Linked DNA regions of Homo sapiens: region 1 is linked to region 2. The links are contacts of gene promoters, found by promoter capture Hi-C in blood cells and fetal thymus (Javierre and others, 2016). All regions are on one chromosome and are shown on one strand. The core of a region is centred on a gene start or on the middle of the fragment in contact, and the rest is flanking DNA. Distances in the headings are between cores, read along the strand shown. Region 1 has its middle 2.6 kb from the start of GHITM. Region 2 holds the start of R3HCC1L (R3H domain and coiled-coil containing 1 like).

Region 1 (3,122 bases), core at 568-3,067, about 14 Mb after region 2:
GCACTCCAGCCTGGGCGATAGAGGGAGACTCAGTCTCAAAAAAAAAAGAAACCAAAAAAACAAAAACAAAAAAACAGCAAATGAATTAAACCCGTGTGTGCTACCACTATTTTAACAAAATAAAGTCCTTGCTCTGTGGCTTTACTTTCTGGTAGAGACAGAACATAGAAAAAATATAATGTGATAACTTAATACCATGAAGAAAGAGCAGATTAAAACCCTGAAAGGGTGATAAGGTGATTAACAACATGCAAAATTCATGAACCTTTATCTCCTAAGCAGTAGTTAATTGTGATTTATGATTCCTAATCATGTAAACCTTGACAAATATAAAGACTTGCCTTCTATGTGGATAATAAAAGAGTCTGGCAGCAACACAATTCTTATCTCTTTACGCTGAAAATGGCAGGAAAACACTAGAGAAATCTCACGAAACTGAACAGATCAAGCATGATCAGTTTAATTTTTATTTTGATCTATGCCCAATTTTATTAGCTAGCAAATAGGTTTTCTGTTTGGCTCCTTCAGTGATAGTCTTTTTTTCTAGAGCTTCTGTTATCAGCAAAGAGAAAGGATTTACAACACAGTACCAGAATAAAGATCTTGAAGTCAATGACTCAAGCTTTCTTCAAGATTCCTATTAAAGCTTATTCTCTCCATATTGGAAGAAAAATGTCTGATTTCATATTTTCCTTTCTCAAGTAAAGGGCTTGTATTGTTGTTTCCACAGGGGTCAAATATTTTGAAGCAGGGGAGGAATCTGGTCATATCATTGGGAAATATATGCTCTTGTGGCAGTGTAGGAAGGGAGAGGTTCCATGGACCAGGAGACCAATTAGGAATTTATTGTAGTTGTTCAACCAAAAGGCAATAAAGGCTGGAATTAAGCCAGTAGAAAGACACAGAGGGGTTTATGACAGAGATATATTGCTGAAGTGGAGTTTGCAGGATTGAATGGTCGGTCAAATATAGCTGATAAGAATGAGGAAGGCTCCCTGAGTAATCCTTCTGAACTGGGTGGATAATTTTATCATTAATTTAGCAATAGGATACAGGGAGAGATACAAGTGAGGGGAAGTAGATACATAAAACTTAGTTTGAAGTGTTTAATTGTTAAGTTCTCTGCTTCTAAGTTCTTAGAGTGTAGGATAGAGAAAAGGACAAGCCGGGAATGGTGGCACATGCATGTAGTCCCAGTTACTGGGGAGGTAGCCCAGGAGCTTAAGGCCGGCCTGGGCAACATAGGGTGATGCTGTCTTTAAAAATAAATAAGTAGGCTGTGTGTGGTGGCTCACGCCTGTAATCCCAGCACTTTGGGAGGCCGAGGCGGGTAGATCACAAGGTCAGGAGATTGAGACCATCCTGGCTAACATGGTGAAACCCCGTCTCTACTAAAAATACCAAAAAAAAAAAAAAAAAAAAAAAAAATTAGCAGAGCATGGCGGTGGGCACCTGTAGTCCCAGCTGCTCGGGAGGCTGAGGCAGGAGAATGGCATGAACCCAGGAGGTGGAGCTTGCAGTGAGCCGAGATCGTGCCACTGCATTCCAGCCTGGGCAACAGAGCGAGACTCCACTTCAAAAAAATAAAAAATAAAAAATAAAAGAATAAATAAGTAAATAAAAAGGAAAAGACATGATTCGTAAATTCCAATACTATATATATGTCACGGTTTTTATTACAGTCTGCTGATGAATTCCTTATTCTCCACTTGCTGGCTAAGTGAGATATGCTGCATTATAGTGGAGAAAACTCAGAGCCAGGACAAAAGATAAAATATTTTATTTACTTTCAGTTAAAATAAATGCTCTCACCTTGCCCTACTATGCTTTCCCATCAGAAGATGTGGTATGAATGAAACAGAGTTGGAAAGGGAGTTTGCTGGGGCTTTAACCTCTGCCCTCCCTGATGGAGTCTCCCAACAAAGGGAAGGTGCTTCTTCCTGAAAGGTTGCAGATGTTTCTGAATGTAGGGACCAATTGGCACCTGCTTCTCATGTGGTTGCTAAGTGGCAGACAACAGAGCAGGTAGGAAAGTTACAAGATCTTCCCCATCTTGGCCTTGTTTTCCCTTGGAATCCCTAAGGTCTAGATAAACACAAGAATGTGATTGTGAGCACGCACCTGCTTGTTTGCACCCTTCGAGATGCTGCTCAGTAGTGAGGCGACACTAGAAGTATGTGTGGGTGAGATGCCCAGATGGGCACCAACAGACCATTTAGTGTATGACAAGGCAGAGCCATTTGACTCTGCTTGGGTGAGAGATCAAACTGTGCCAACTTCAAAAGTTATATCCTGCCAGCCACAGAAAGACAATGAAGCCATGGGGACTACTCCCTTTAGATTTTGCTGAACGGCAGCTGCATGACAATGCAATGACTAAGAGGTAGAGTGGAAGGACAGAGAAGCTACACTTTTTCCCCTCCTGTTTAATGTAAATGTTTCTAATCCAGTTGTGGCCCAGGAGAGGAGAAAGGACTTTGAACTCCAATGTGACTGATGGTAATAAATCCTGAAACTGACAGACAAATTGTCAGACTGTTCTGAGCTTGCAAAATGGAATAAATAGGCTGTCTGCTCTAAACTGACTGGGGCCTTGAAAATGACATCGATGGCAGTTTAAAGAAAAATGTAGCTCAATTTTGCATTCACCTAACTGACAATATATACCCCTCACATATGTGCAACTAAATGCTGTAAGTGGGCCAAAGGACAAGGTCATTAGTGGGGTAGTATCTGTGGAGGGACAGATATTGGCAGAAAATTGAGACTAGTGTCATGCTTTCTGGTCAGTCTTCCAAGAGGAAACCAACACTCAGAAATTGTAGTAGCTTTTCTTAAGAAAAAGGTATTAGGTTGTTCTTGCACTGCTATAAAGAAATACCCGAGGCTGGGTATTTTATAAGAAAAGAGGTTTAATTGGCCCATGATTCTGCAGGCTATACAGGAAGCATAGTGGCATCTGATTCTGGGGAGGCTTCAGGAAGCTTCCAATCATGGCAGAAGGCAAAGAGGGGCAGGTACATCACATGGCAAAAGGAAGAGCAAGAGAGAGAGAGTTGGCGGGGAAGGGCCAAACACTTTTAAATGACCAGATCTCCTGAGAACTCACTATCTCAAGGACA
Region 2 (3,117 bases), core at 501-3,000:
CTGAAATTTGAAACACTCTGGTACCAAGCATTTCAGATAAGGATACTCCAACCTGTAGTAAGACACAGCACCAGGACTTGAACTCAAATTTGCTCGAATTTGTACACTAAGCTAATGCAACTTACTGTCATCCTCTCTTGTTTTTTGGACCATTTTCAAGTATTCTTCAATCAATAAATTCAGAATAAACACAGACTAAAAATACCTAACTACACTTTCTTACCCCTTTAAAAATTAATCGCAGAGGTCGGGCACAGTGGGCACAGTGTCAAACGCCTGTAATACCAACACTTTGGGAGGTCGAGGCGGGAGGATCATTTGAGCCCAGGAGTTAGACCAATCTGGGCGACATAGTGAAATCCTGATTCTACCCAAAAAAAAAAAAAAAACTGATTGCAGAATTAGCATTCTCTGTAAGGGGAAAAATAAGACAATAAGCAACTTGCTTAGTCTCAAAGCTTAATGTCAAAAAAAATTAAACAGATGGGATATTTGGCTATTTATATTCTGAATTTCAACTGTGACACAAGACACAAGACCTGCTGGGGACAGGTATTAGTTGTAGTACAACCATATCTGAGGAACGTTTACTGCTTTATGCTTGTACCTGTGTGATACTGAAGGAAGGTTATAACAGCAAGAGATAGTTGTGTGTGCTGAGGAAGAAGAGTCTAAATTCTGGTGGGCCTTAAAATCCAGATGAAGTTTTAAATTGACTCCACAGGTGGTAACGCCCTAAGGTCACCTCTTCACTAGGAACCTGGCATAAAAACATCTGTATGGTTCAGATTCGTTTCCAAAGACACTTTCCCCCTATTTATTAACTAATTTGATCTTCGTATAGACATGAACCTGGTTTTAAAACTCAACTGACCTAGACTGGAGACTGGGGGATGGCAAGGTTATACCCGAAACATACTTTAGAGTTCAAAGCTTTCGCAGGAATATCACTTCTGCTGAAGCCCACAACCCTGGAAGGCCGCAGGGCAAAGAACATTAACCCCACTTTTCAGACAACGAAACCGAGGCTGCGCTAAACAGACTACTGTACAAAAGATCACAGGTCCAGCCAAGTGGCGGACTGAGACTTCCCCCAGGATATCAGACTCCAAATCCTGTGCTCCTTCCCGTACACAACTGAGAGGGGGCTGCACTCACAAACTTTAAAGATCGGACTTGGGGTTTTTCGCAGGCCTGCCAAGAAAAAGCAGGAAGTACATGCTCCTTTATAGATTGCTCACTCCCAGCCCGTAGCCCGGGGCTCCCGGGCAGCGGAGGAGGCTCAAAGGCGAGGCTCGAAGCGAAGCCCGGAAACCGCCGGCAGCCCTGGGGGCCCACGGCCCCGCAGCCCCGAGGGGGTAACCAGGGACCCCGCTCAATACCTGTTGAAACCCAGAAAAAGCACGTCCTTTCCGCCAGGATCATTTGGGGCGAGCGCCCAAAGCGAGCACGAGCCCCAGTGAGTGCAAAAGAGCCCCGGGAGGGTCCCTCTCAACCGCGGGCCCGCAGGGGTCAGAAGGCGGGAGCTTCCCAGTAACCTCCGCCCCAGGCAGGGGGCGGCCCCTCGCGTCACATGAGGAAAAAAAATACCAGCAACAAACGACGGAATGGAAGTCTTGTCCCGGGCTGTGAAGGGAGAAGTGGGGATTAAAAATCCTAGCTTGAGGTACAGAGGGAGGGGATACGGGGCTGGTTGTTACCGGCGCGCTGTTGCTCTCCGCTTCCGCCGTCTCCGCGAAGCTCTATCTCTTCCGCTCGCGCCGCTGGGGCGCGCGTCAGGCCTCGGCTCCGCCCCCAACGCCGTGGGGCCTTCTGGGGGTTGTAGTTTCCGCGAGGCCCGGCCGCGCCCACTGAGTTCAGGTCACGTAGGGGAGAAGCTGGCAAAATGGCGAGTGCCGGAGAGCATTTCTGCTCCTGTCCCTTCAACCCTTCCTCATTCCTCTCGGCTATATACGTGCGCAAATCTCCTTACATTCCACTCAATTATACCATCTCACTTCCTCCGTTCACAGCCAAGTTTTTTGAAAAAGATAATCTACACTGTCTCTACTTGCTCATCTGTGTTCACTCCTCATCGCAGCTTCCGCCCCCATGGAAAATGCCTTGTTGTCATAAGTGTCCTTGTTGCCAAACTCATTGGAGGTATTTCCGGACTCATCTAACTCAAGCTTTAGTCATTTGACGCTATTGGGCATTATCACTTATTTTCTATGACACTATCCAGGTTTTCCTTCTCTGAATTCATTCTACTTTGTTTCCTCTAACTTACCTCTAAAATATTGGTGTTTTCCAGAGTTCTTAAAATTGGGGTGGGAGAGGGGACACTCCAGTCCCTTCTCACCTGAGCTCATTGTTTGTATTCCCAACTTCCTAGACAAGACCTCTCCTCATCCATGCCCACAGGCATCTCCAGTGTCCTTGAAAAGTGAACTACTGGGGCCAGGAACAGTGGCTCATGCCTGTAATCCCAGCACTTTGGGAGGCCAAGGCAGGTGGATCACCTGCGGTCAGGAGTTCGAGACCAGCCTGACCAACATGGTGAAACCCTGTCTCTACTAAAAGTACAGAAATTAGCTGTGCGTGGTGGTGGGCACCTGTAATCCCAGCTACCCAGGAGGCCGAGGCAGGAGAATTGCTTGAAGGAGAATCGCTTGAACCCGGGAGGCGGAGGTTGCAGTAAGCCAAAATTGCACCACTGCACTCCAGCCTGGGCAACACAGGGAGACTCCGTCCCCCAAAAAAAGAAAAGTAAACTACTACCCCTCCTCCCTACTCATTAATATTCACTCTTTAACCTGATTCCTCCTTTCTCACTTCCTCTTCCTCCAATATTCAAATGGTCACCAAATCTTGGAGATTCTATTGTAGCAGGACGAGCCGCAGACAAAACCTCTCAGACACCAAGTTGTAGAACGAAGGGCTTTATTCAGCTGGGAGCATCGGCAAGCTACTGTCCTAAAATCCAAGCTCCCCGAGTGCACAATTTCTGTCCCTTTTAAGGGCTCACCACACTAAAGATTTCACATGAAAGGGTCGTGATTGATTGAGCAATCTGGGGTGTATGTGACAGGGGCTTCATGCAGTGGTAGTCAGAGTGAAACAGAACAGAGTACAATG

Evidence for each region. Contacts are between HindIII fragments. The CHiCAGO score rates a contact against its expected background, and 5 or more counts as called.
Region 1: a fragment that was not itself captured here is called in contact with the fragment with the promoter of R3HCC1L in region 2 in 1 of 17 cell types (non-activated CD4 T cells); the score reaches 6.9 in non-activated CD4 T cells.

The regions. Positions count from the first base shown.
Region 1 is chr10:84,135,388-84,138,509 of GRCh38, reverse strand. No RefSeq gene overlaps it. Among named protein-coding and RNA genes, the nearest start is that of GHITM, 2.6 kb to the left of the region's middle. The HindIII fragment of the contact is 2,338 bases long and covers 649-2,986 here.
Region 2 is chr10:98,133,290-98,136,406 of GRCh38, reverse strand. It overlaps R3HCC1L (R3H domain and coiled-coil containing 1 like), which reads right to left and starts at 1,750. Exons shown (of 10, transcript NM_001351015.2): 1 at 1,701-1,750. RefSeq lists enhancers at 1,052-1,191, 534-1,323. The HindIII fragment of the contact is 1,235 bases long and covers 936-2,170 here.